Regions from separate parts of the Homo sapiens genome. Here region 1 is linked to region 2. Evidence: promoter capture Hi-C in 16 types of primary human blood cells and fetal thymus (Javierre and others, 2016). All regions are on one chromosome and are shown on one strand. Each heading gives the region's core, a stretch centred on a gene start or on the middle of the fragment in contact. The rest is flanking DNA. Distances are from core to core; before and after follow the strand shown.

Region 1 (6,061 bases), core at 1,220-3,719, 360 kb after region 2:
CGGAGTTCTGGGCAAAAATGGCCATATATAATAGGAAACTGAATAAGGAAGAGTTTCATCATCTTTTCTTGGGCCCATGGTCAACCCCAAGGAAACATTTGGAACACACCTATTTTTTTTCAATTCAGAAAAAAAATCTTATTTTTATTTGACAAATAAAAATTATATATACAGTATTTATGTTACACAATATGATGTTTTAAAAATTACTTATTTTTTAAATTGATGCATTATAATTGTACATATCTATGGAGTATAATTTGATGTTTTGATATAAGTGTATGCTGTATGATACAATTAGGTTAGTTAGTGTATCCATCACCTCATGCATTTATCATTACTTTGTGGTGAGAATCTTCAAAAGCCTCTCTTCTAGCTATTTTGTAAAATACAATATTTTCCTGTTAAATACAGTCATTCTACTGTGTAATAGAACACCGAAATTATTCCTTCTAATTGTATCGTTGTACCCGTTGACCAACCTCTCCCCATCCTCCTTTCCCCACTTACTCCCCCAGTCTCTGGTAAACCACTGTTATATTCTCTGCTTCTATATCAACTTTATTATTATCATTATTATTTTTTAGATTCCACATATCAGTGAGATCATGCAGTATTTGTTTTTCCGCATCTGATTTATTTCACTTAACATGGTGTCCTTCAGGTTCATTCACGTTATTGCAAATGACAGGATTACATTTCTTTTATGGCTGAATAGTATTCCATTGTGTATATATACCACATTTTCTTTATCCATTCATCCATCCATCTGTGGATACTTAGGTTGATTTCATATATGTTTTGATATACGCATGCATTGTGGAATGGCTAAATTGAGTGAATTAACATATATGCATTACCTCACATACTTGAAATTTTTTTTTGTAATGAGAACATTTACAATCTATGCTCTTTGTGATTTTTAAGCATACGATATATTGTTCTTAACTATCATCACCATGATGGACAATAGAGCTCTTCAACTTATTCCTCTTCTTTAACTGAAATGTTGTATCCTTTGGGTAACATCTCCCCATCTCGCTGCCCCTTGCCCACCCAGCCCCTGGCAACCACCATTCTACTCTTTCCTTCTATGAGTTCAAGTGTTTTAGATTCCACATGCAAGTGTGATCATGTGGTGTTTTTTACTCTCACTAATCTTCATTTTTGCTTCTTTCTCCTCTGGCCACCTTCACAAATGCTCAGTGTCCTCATGTGGTTCCGACCCTTTGCAGTGGCACCTTGCTTAGGTCTGTGCCATCTCAAAAAGTGGTCTAGGTTTTACAATTATTTACATCCCTACTTCCAGTTCTTCAACACTCCTGATCTTAACTAGTTGTGAGGAGAAAAATCTGATTATACAAATTTGCACTAATTCACATTCCTTCCCTCAGCAATAGGTATTTGCATTTTGATACTTGCATTTGCTTCCTTGCTCTGCGGGAGAATTTCCAGTCTAGTTTTAGGTGTATTTTTAAATAATTTGAAGGTAACGCGGAACCTCTATATTCCTATATTCCCTTCTTCAGACATCCATGTGTGTGTGTGTATATATGTATATATATAAAATGTTGCATATATATGTATATATATAGTATACACACATATATAATATATATACACACACATATATAGTTGTTATAGGATTATTTGGAAATATTATGTTGAGACTTGTGTGAAGTGTAGAATTAGGTAAAATTTTAAGATGAACTATATCCATGGTATTCTTTTATTTTAAAAAAAGTTTACATGTTAAGAAAAAAGGAGATCAGATTTTCAGCATTAGTATTTACAAACTTAAGTTGATATTGATTATAATTCAATTAATACAATTTTAAGATATATTTACTTCTGCCTTAATTGTTATGATCACTTAAAAATAGTTCCAAAAAGGGAAGAAAACAATAATTAGATTAGCCAAGACAGTTATTTTTGAAACATAAGTCTGGTTTAGAATTCAGCATGTTTAAAAATGAGATAAAATTATTTTAATAATGGAATGATCTGTTAGCTGTCATTACCATTTACTTTAAAGCAGAGGATATAGGACATGGGTCCTTTTTTTCTGATCACCTCCAATGAGATAAGAATCTATAAAGCTGGTAGGAAAATGAGTCCGTGACCAAAATGCTTACTCAGCCACTATAGGAGATCAAAACATTTTATACTAAATCTGAACTCTACTAAGACAAAACAATTGTGTTCTTTGAAAAATATGTAGGGTTTAGAAAATTTCTGGGATTTGTCTGTAAAATACCCTCCGGGCTCTAATAGTGACGTTTTAGGGAAACACTTGCATCTCAAGGTGGAAAGGATAGAGGTGGTGTTTTGTGGGCTCCTGTGGTGGTTAGGTCGTTCTCAGAAGACAGTACTGGAAATTAGATAATTGCTGATGTCATATTTTTCACAATTAAAAAAAAGTCAGTATCCTGGGGGCTATAAAAGCAGCAGCTTCTACCTTCCCCGTCACAAGCAGAATCTTCAGAACAGGTAAGCGTTTCGGCAAACTTGGTACAATTGGTTAGTTTGATGAAATACTTCTTGACTAATTTTGTTCCTTCACGTTGTCTTCGACCAGGTTCTCCTTCCCCAGTCACCAGTTGCTCGAGTTAGAATTGTCTGCAATGGCCGCCCTGCAGAAATCTGTGAGCTCTTTCCTTATGGGGACCCTGGCCACCAGCTGCCTCCTTCTCTTGGCCCTCTTGGTACAGGGAGGAGCAGCTGCGCCCATCAGCTCCCACTGCAGGCTTGACAAGTCCAACTTCCAGCAGCCCTATATCACCAACCGCACCTTCATGCTGGCTAAGGAGGTATACATCTCAATCCTGCTCTTTCTCGTTGGATCTACTTGGAATCCAAATAGTTCTTAAACTTTTCTTCAGAGCATCTCTAAGAGCTTTAGGAACCCACTGTTTATCCCTGAGGGTAGATAAATTTTCTGTTTTTTCAGAGACTCTTTGGGAATCTGGCTTTTTTTTTTTTCTTGAACTTCTTCCTTCCATTTTGGCCTTTATGATACATATGATGAATTTTTCCCAAAGAGCGGCCATTCAGTAATCCATCTGATGATTTTTTTTTTCCTTTATGCCTCTGTGCATTGTTCTAAACTCATGCACACATCTGAATTCTGCTTTTAGTCTTTATGATGTTGCTCTGGGGAGACGGGATGGGGCACATGTCTATGTATAAATTTTTTTTCTATTTGCTCAATGTCCAGACCCTTAGTCTTTTCTTCTCTTCCAGGCTAGCTTGGCTGATAACAACACAGACGTTCGTCTCATTGGGGAGAAACTGTTCCACGGAGTCAGTGTAAGCTACAGTTGTGACGAACAGGGCCGTGTGCCGTCCATGGGTACTTGGGGTGGTGGTGATGATGGTTTAGGTCTTATCCCTTATGACCCTTTCTGTTTCCCTTCCACCTGCAGATGAGTGAGCGCTGCTATCTGATGAAGCAGGTGCTGAACTTCACCCTTGAAGAAGTGCTGTTCCCTCAATCTGATAGGTTCCAGCCTTATATGCAGGAGGTGGTGCCCTTCCTGGCCAGGCTCAGCAACAGGCTAAGCACATGTGTAAGTTCAGCTCTCAGCCTATGCCCACCTACCCCTCCTTCCCTCCTTCCACAGAGACCCCCTTACCCCAACTCTCTCTCCTTCCCCCTACCCCTAAGCTAGCAGGAAGAAGTGTCTTGGCAGCAGTGTTATCAGGAGTCATTTGGGATCATAGAGTATTTGCTTTTGCTTTGACTGAGTCACATCTTGAGTTTATAGTGGTGAATGGGGTCTGGAACTTAAGTGTACAGAAGCCGCATTGGTTTGTCTTCGGAAAAAAGGCAACTCAGGTTGCGTAAGATGAGAAAGGTGTTGGGAAAAACATCTAGATGTGGAAATGGATCCATTGAGTCTAAGTTGTTGAGGGGAGGGGATGGCATGGAGAGAAATTAGAAGAGAAAGTGGGAAATGGGAAGGCTTAAAGTCGGTGGTGGGTCGGCAGACTGTTGCCCTGTTGATGTCATGGGAAGCCACAAAATCGGAGGCGTGTGAACTTGATGCCGCTGAACATTTGAAACTATGAAAAAAAGTTTGAGTGGAGTGGGCCCAGTAAAAGGCCCTAGGACTTACTGAAGAGGGCTTAATTTTCACATGAGATGTTTTATGTACATTTCTTGTTCTAAGCATGCAATTTTCTGGAGATACGATTGAGGTTTTATTCCTTACAGAATTTGCATAAACTACTCCGCTCTTTCCACAAATGCAAACCTCAGTAGGATTTCCCAAAGATGAAGAGAGGTCTCTTGTAAGGGAAGTGACTGGATTCTGGCGTCCAAGGGAATTCAAGAGCTCAGGAAATCTAGGTCACTGTTGAAATCTAGGTCATTGTGGGCAAAATTACTAAGAGCTTTAATTCCAGGTGAATTGTACTGTACCTCCATGGGTGTGGAGGTTCATAAAGTTTCAGCACAACATTAAGATAGTTATGCTTGTTATTGTTTTATAGCATATTGAAGGTGATGACCTGCATATCCAGAGGAATGTGCAAAAGCTGAAGGACACAGTGAAAAAGGTAGGACTGATAACTGTCAATGCTAAGTCATGCAATAGGAGAGACAAATGTTGTTTTTCTTTCCTTTCTTTCTTCCCATCACTTTGTGATTTTTCACTTGATTCTCCTACCACCAGGGCGATTACTTTGGTGTCTGTGTATGTAGATATATCTATATATCTAGATGTCAGTTTCCAAATCTTGCAAATTGTAGAATTCTAGAACTGGTTGGGATCTTAGCTTGTCTAGTCACATAACCTCAGATTCTGGGGATGGTCAGTGGCAGAGATAGGGCTAGAATGCAGGTCTCCTGAATCCCAAGCCAGCACTTTTCCCGGTGGTGATACAGATTAGTTTTGGTACCATTAATTCTTAGGGAAATTTCAGATTCCTATTGACTCATGTAATCTGAAGAAGTACTTGTTTAAAAACAGAAAAATGCCTATGGGCAAATTTATTTGAAGTCATTTTTGAAGTCATTAATGCATTGCTTTGAAACTTGGAAGAATAAACTCAGAACAATGAGAAAAGAGCTGGACTTGCATATAGGGCTAATTTCTGGAGTAATAAACACTTATTTTGAATTATCATAATATCTATCAGATATTGATTATAGTTTAAAAGCAAGAGCAGACAACCCCGATCTCTTTTATACAGGTTCAAATAGAGTAAAAATATTAGTAAGAGATTTATTAAAGTTAAATGGAAGTCTGAATTGGTAAGCTTTTTTTTCTTCCTCTCTCCCATCAAGACCTTCCATTCTAGTTTCTTCCTTCACTCCCTCAACAAATCCCTAGGGAGCATTTATCCATGGTGGGCTGGTGTACATTTCTATAGTGAATGATACCATCATGTGGCCTATTTGGTGAAAAGAACAACAATGGAAGGCTTAGACTAACAATAGTGACTCACCCCAAAACCGGAGGAATGATTAGGAGCAGTGAAAGTGACGCTCTTGCAAGCAGGTACAACTAAATACTCAGAAACATGAAGGCTCCAGTTGATGGAATTTTCAGTAACAAGCTTAACCTTAATTCCCCCTTTTTCCCTCTTGACTTTTTAAAAAAGCGTTTCTTCCTGAGCATCATTTAATGAGTGTGACTGTTTCTTCCTTTGATAATTGAAGGCTTTGTAGTTTTAAATTGTGAAGCCCAGTTCTCTTGTTATAGAACTATTATCTAGACATGGAGGGCTGAATGTTAGCATGCCACAGACAAGGCATGCTTTACACATCTTGCTTAAAAAATTACTGATTTCATCTTGCTTGTTGTCTTTAGAAAAGTGAAGTGTGAGAGAGGAGAATCTCATGGTGATCTGTGTGATTTTCAAGACCTTTAATCCATTTTGAAAGAATCAATTTCATATTTGCAATGGGTTGCCATGTGGAAGAGTGATTATGCTTTTTTGCTGGTAGCTTCAGAAAGCACAGGAGGGAGAGCAATGTTGTTCAGAGAAAGATCAACAGGAGGAGAAACTGTCAGAGCTGTCTGAAATAGGGTGGTTTTGGGAGGCATTAATTCCC
Region 2 (6,591 bases), core at 1,449-3,948:
GCGTTAAGGCATACAAAACAATATATATCTTGTGGTTGGAGTTCACAATTCAATGGAATAAATAATATAAAATGGTAACAGGAGGCAGGAAGTAATGCGTGTCATAGAAGGTAAGAGAGATGACTTTCACGCGGTCGTGGGTGAGGGGAGAATGTAAAAGAGAGCAGAGCAATCATTTTCTTATCTCCTTTTTTTTTTTTTTTTTTTAAGACAGGTCTAGCTCTGTCACCCAGGCTGCAGTACAGTAGTGCAGTCTCGGCTCACTGCACCCTCCGCCTCCCAGGTTCAAGCTGGTTCATTCAATGTGAACCTCCCAGGTTCATATTCTCGTGCCTCAGCCTCCCGAATAGCTGGGATTGCAGGCGCGTGCCACTACACCCGGCTATGTTTTGTATTTTTAGTAAAGACGGGGTTTCACCATGTTGCCCAGGCTGTTCTCGAACTCTTCACCTCAAATGATCCGCCTTCCTCGGCTCGGCCTCCCAAAGTGCTGGGATTACAGGCGTAAACCACCACGCCCAGCCAGAGCAATCATTTTCATGCCCCATACAACATTTTAAAATTAAGTCAGTTTAGCATTGGTTCTTCAGTTATATTTTGATACCTGGCATATTAAAAACAACAAACTGGCTACATGTGTTCCAATGATTTACTTTAGGACTTCCTTAGATAAGGCAGCTTCACGATTTATTGTCAACGTCAAACAAGGAAATGCAAGTGAAAACACCTAACGTAGTACACATTAAAAGCACAGATGAGCTCAAATAAGACTAAAGGAAATGCAAGTGAAAACACCTAACGTAGTACACATTAAAAGCACAGATGAGCTCAAATAAGACTATCATTCAGGCTCTGTGTGCTTAAAGTTATTTAATCTGAGTATCAGTTTCCTCACCTAAAACCTGAGGATGAAACTACTCAAGTGGTTTTTTCTCCTATTTGACTAAGGTACCCACTTTTTAAAAGTGCGATATGGGAAGAATATTCTTTGTAAGATGATAATTCACTATAAAAACGTTGTATTTCTTTCTCCATGTTGTCTCTTACGGATAGACTACTGTCCTAAAGGTCAGTGGACCCACTAACTGGTTATCTTATCTAGGCCTCAGTTTCCTCCTCCATAAAATGACAGGGTGGGACTGGATGATCTAAATAGTCCCTTCCGGCCCTTAAAAAGTCCCATGACTCCACTATGACTCAATAAATACTATTTCAAGAGTCAGCTTTTAAGAATAATATGGGCTTGAAGTTAAATGAATGTCTCCCTTTTCTATAAGTTACTTTTTGTTAAGATAAGGTCTTGTTGAGCAAGTCCAAACAGTATTCTAATTACGAAAAAAGAGAGCTGAAAAATAAATTTACAAGTCAGAGCTTTAAATTGTTAAGTACTCGACATATATGAGATGCTGCCTGCAAAACCAAAATCCAATTAGACGGAATTAATTTTAAAATACTAAAATCACAATCTTCATTTAGTGTCAACTTTCTACCCCGTAAAAATGTGATTTCCCCTTACTGCAACACAGAACTGCTTCTATTCATACCAATCAGAAGTTACAGGGCCAAAATGTTTTTCTAAACTATTAAAGAGAGTGGGAGAGGGGGGAAAGCGAAGGGGAAGGAAACCATCTGCTTTAACTTGCAAAAATGATCTTTTCTCCAAAAGACATCAGTGTTTTTCAGAAGAAAAATCCGGAGAGCCCGGTTCACTGGGCGTAGTTTTAAATAAAATTCATGGCGCTGATAGTTTTAGGATTAGACACCTCGAGATGGCGAAAAAGAGAAGAGGACAAACTTCCTGGATTTTCTCTCCCTCTAAGAGAAAGAGATTTCCTCTTGCTGACGAAGGGAAAGGCCCCTTTAACAGTTTTTCTCTACACGGTGGCTGCTGCCAGACTAAGTGGGGCTCTCTCCGCTGCCTTCCTCCTGCCACTTCCCGCAACAAATGGAGCAAGCAAGCCCCGTTTCAGGCAAACTTTTTCGCTGTCAGGCTCAAGCCCGCGGGGCGCCTGGGAGTGGTTTCCCCCGAAGGCTCCTCGCCCTAGCTCGGGGCTGGGAGAAGCTAGGTCTTCGCAAAGGACAACTTTCTGGTTTCCGTTCTAACTTCCACCCATACCACGGAGGGAACCCAGGCGACAAGCGAGGGGGCTCGGGGCGGGGAGCGAGTCTTCGGGGGAGCCGGCGGGGAAAGGAGGGCGGCGGGAGAAGCTGCGGCGGACGCGGGCTGAAGAGAGCGGGCGGGTGGGGGGGTCCTCGGGCTCTCACTTCCTCCGCCATATTTCAGACATTTGACCCCTTCCGCAAAGCGCGCTGTTCTCCCGCGGCGGCGGCGGCTGCTCCTCCTCGCCGGCCCGCAAGGCAGCGCGCTCGCGGGCCCGGCGCCTGGCCCTCGCGCCACCTGCCGCGCGCCGAGGGGCTGCCGCCGCCGGGGCCCCTGACCGCCGCGCCCGGCCCGCGCCTCGCCGCACCCCACCCGCTCCCCTCAGCCGGCGCCCGGCCCCGCGCGGCCGCCGCCGCGGCTTCCCTCAGCGGCCACGCACTCACTCTGCGAACCTCTCACGCTGTCACCGGGTCCCTGCAGCCAGCGTCGCCCCGCGCTCCCCCCGGGTCGCTACTCTAGGCGCCACGGCGGTCCTGCCGCTGCCGCGCCGCTCCGGCTGGTTTACACGCCTGAATCTGGGCGAGGTTTGGCGATGTCGCCTTGACGTCAGGCGTTCAGCCTCGCTCCAGCTTCCGCCCGCGGGCGGGGCGCGCGGGTGCGCGGCCCGGGAAGGGGCGGGCCTAGGGGGCGGGGCGAGGGGAGCCGAGGGGGCGGGGCCGCCGCGCGCCGGGTCCTCGGCGCCGGCCTCTAGCCGGCCTGCATCGCAGCCGGAGCGCAGGCCCTGCCCACGGGCCCCTTAGCTGCCTCTGGGCGGCATGTCTGCCGAGGTTCTTCTCTCTAGCTGCGCCGCGCCTTCAGGCTCGCTTCCCCAGGCTGTCTGGTGGGCGGAATCCGCGCGTCGGTGTTCCTGACCCTCGTGGGTTCCAGTGGAACCCTCCGAAACCCAAAAGGCGCCGCCTCTTAATGCAAACTGTAGTCACCGACTCGTCCAGTCTGTTGGTATTCGCGTCGTCCTTTGTGCTGGGCAAAGTAACCGAGAAGTAACGGAGAGCGCGCATTTTCTACACCTAGAGCTCCCCGAGGGAGCCTGGGCCAGCAAGTCTTTCCATTCTTGAGATGCCTTTTCTCCTGGATTGACAAGTGTTTTATCCATTGGTGTCTTAACCCGGGCGAACTCTTTCCAAATTCCCATGCCAAACGCAGTTAACAAATCGATGATTTCTAAATAAGTTTGTACCCTGCACCTAAACCAACGCCATTTATATAACTAAAATAAATTGCGTATTTAAATGCATGTCCTGGACGCTTTATTCACTTCACAGGATTACCCATAGGCAAGTAGGTTTATCGTGTGACTTCAGGGCACCAGAAAACACTTTCTGTTCCAAAATGCCTCGTTCCAAAAAGGGCGGGAACTTAACACGGGAATTTACCATTCTTACTTACCCTTAGTACAAGAAATTTATCAGAACTTTTTCTTGAAGCAGTTTTGATGGGCGAGGAGATTAAGAGAGCAAAGTGCAGGGAAAAGGGATTGAGGGGTCATTTAAGACTAACTTTCTTGGTTCATAATTTAATTAGGCCCTGTACAAATTATTCTTGAAATAAATCTTAATAAACGTTGATAAATTTGGAAGATAAATGGAATGTGACTAATTTCACTCCGTTTAAGAATATGTAGTGATTGAAAACTAAGCTAACCTAAGTTAAATGAATAGATGAGAATGAATTATAACAGTTCTCTGTGTTTTATAATGTTTTACAATTTAGGTTAATTGAGTAGATTACCTATTTCGATAATTTCTATTTCCTTAGAAAAATATCTTTTTAAAAATTGTTTATTGTCTGCATTTATTGTGTATACAACATGATCGTTTGAAGTAATGTATACATTGTTACATTACCTCACAGAGTTACCTTTTTTTTTGAGAGTCTTGCTCTGTCACCCAGGCTAGAGTGCAGTGGCATGATCTCGGCTCACTGGAATTTCTGCTTCTCAGGTTCAAGAGATTCTCCTGTCTCAGCCTCCCGAGTAGCTGGGATGACGGGCGCGTGCCACCACGCCCAGCTAATTTTTAGTAGAAAGGGGATTTCGCCATGTTGGCCAGGCTGGTCTCGAATTCCTGACCTCAGGTGATGCGCTCGCCTGGGCCCCCCAAAGTGCTGGGATTACAGGCGTGACTCACCGCGCCGGCTGAGTTAGCATTTTTTTTTTCTTTTTTGAGACAGAGTTTCGCTCTTGTTGCCCAGGCTGGAAGGCAATGGCGTGATCTCGGCTCACTGCAACCTCCGCCCCCACCTCCCACCCTCGGGTTCAAGCGATTCTCCTGCCTCAGCCTCCCGACTAGCTGGGATTACAGGCATGCGCCACCACGCCCGGCTAATTTTGTATTTTTAGTAGAGACGGGGTTTCTCCATGTTGGTCAGGCTGGTCTGGAACTCCCGACCTCAGGTGATCCGCCCGCCTGGGCCTCCCGAAGTGCTGGGATTACATGCGTGAGCCACCGCGCCTGGCCTTGAGTTAGCATTTTTTTATGAGAACACTTAACATCCATTCTTTAGAAAACCTTTTTAAATAAAAGTTTCAAAGGCAAATTTCAGAGCAGTCCGTTGGAATTACTGTAACTTCTCAATGAATGAGTGAATTACAAATAAATTTGACTTTACTAACTTTTCAGTTATTGCATAAAAATTTGATAACTGAAAGTCTGAAACTTTGAGCTCACAGAAGTGTTACCTGGGAACACTGTGCTTTTTCTTTCTTTCTTTTTTTAGAAAAACTCTTTGTCCTTTGGGCAATTGATTTTTTTTTTCCAGAAAGAAATTGGTTTTAGAAAATTGAAGCTAGAATTTTTAGAGTTTGAGAGAACGTGTAAAATAATCTATTTAATTAAAAACACAGTTTCTCTTATTAGACTGGAAATCATTGTTATTTGTATTAAACTGTTATCACTATGCAGAGAATACCATAATCTGCATCTCTTAACACTGAACTCACTTTTCAGTTTGAGCCTCTTTCCTATTTATTTCCTTGACTTCTTCTCCAGGATATTCCACTGGCAATTTGCACTGGTCATGTGTGCAAACTGAACTCATCGTCTTTGTAACCAAACCAGTTTCTTTTCCTCTTCCTTTGTGAATTGTATCACCATCTTTTAAATTACCCAATCTTCAAGCCTGATACTTAGCTCTCTGCTCTTCTTGAATAATCCATCAATTGGCATATCTATTAGATAGTAATTCGACAAGGTCTTTCATTGTGTTTCCTCTTTTCCATTTCAACTAAGACCATACTTAGTTTTTAGTTGCCAAATTTAGTTTGGCAGAACTCATCCCCTGGACCTTTGCAGCCTGGTGGCCTCCAGTCTGTTCCTGCTGTGATCCATTCTATACATTGTTGCCAGATGATTATCTTAAAGCATACCAAGCAAGTCACTCCCTTCCTCAAAGAGCCTTCAATTACTCCCCACTCTACCAAAATAAAATTAAAATCCTGTGTCTCACTTTTTCCTTTCACTCAAAACTGATTTATAGTCAGAATGGACAGTGGACTTTTCATCTGGCCCACATAATTTGCTTCCCCATCTCTCTGTTGTGCATAGGTGAATGATTTCCTCTGCCTGGAATGCCCCTTCCCATTCCATCTCATTCTGCAAATACCTTGCCCATTATTCAAGGTTTATCTACTTTCTCTTAAGAATGAGCTTCTTGGCCAGGCGCGGTAGCCTATAATCCCAGCACTTTGGAAGGCAGAGGCGGGCGGATCACTTGAGGCCAGGAGTTCAAGACCAGGCTGGCCAACATGGTGAAACCCCATCTCTACTAAAAATACAAAAATTAGCTGGGCATGGTGGCACATGCCTGTAATCCCAGCTACTCGGGAGGTTGAGGGAGAAGAACTGCTTGAACTGGGACCCGGGAGGCGGAGGTTACAGTGAGCAGAGATCGCACCACTGCACCCCAGCCTGGGCTACAGAGTGAGACTCCGTCTCAAAAAAAAAAAAAAAAAAAAAGAGCTTCTTTTCTGATACTTCTAACCTTATGTATTCTCTTCTCTTTAGAATCCCTGAAACATTTTATTGCTGCTTTTCTTTGTCACTTGTGTTTGACCTTCCTGTGAATAGGGATTTGCAAACTTTTTCTGTCAAGGGCCAGAGAGTAAATATTTTAGACTTTGTGGGCCAGACAGATGGTCTCTGTTGCAACCACTCAACTCTACAGTTGTGGGACAAAAGCAGCCATAGATAATACATAAAGAATAGACCTGACTGTATTCTAATAAAACTTTATTTATGGACACTAAAATTTGAATTTCAAGTAATTTTAACGTGTCACGAAATGTTCTTTTTTTTTTTTTTTCTTTTAGCCATTTAAAAATGTGAAAATCGGCTAAGTGTGGTGGCTCACGCCTGTAATCCCAGCGCTTTGGGAGGCTGAGGTGGGAGGATCACTTGAACCTCAAGAGCTGGAGACCAGCCTGGGCAACATAG

Evidence for each region. Contacts are between HindIII fragments. The CHiCAGO score rates a contact against its expected background, and 5 or more counts as called.
Region 1: a contact is called between the fragment with the promoter of IL22 here and the fragment with the promoter of RAP1B in region 2, in 5 of 17 cell types (M2 macrophages, monocytes, naive CD8 T cells and 2 more). The highest score is 8.2, in M2 macrophages.

Annotation. Positions count from the first base shown.
Region 1 is chr12:68,250,012-68,256,072 of GRCh38, reverse strand. It overlaps IL22 (interleukin 22), which reads left to right and starts at 2,469. Exons shown (of 6, transcript NM_020525.5): 1 at 2,469-2,490; 2 at 2,579-2,810; 3 at 3,244-3,309; 4 at 3,426-3,569; 5 at 4,495-4,560. The coding sequence starts at 2,625. The HindIII fragment of the contact is 7,204 bases long and covers 1-5,264 here.
Region 2 is chr12:68,607,006-68,613,596 of GRCh38, reverse strand. RAP1B (RAP1B, member of RAS oncogene family) reads right to left here and starts at 2,698. Exons shown (of 8, transcript NM_001010942.3): 1 at 2,554-2,698. RefSeq lists a silencer at 2,382-2,841. The HindIII fragment of the contact is 9,459 bases long and covers 1-6,591 here.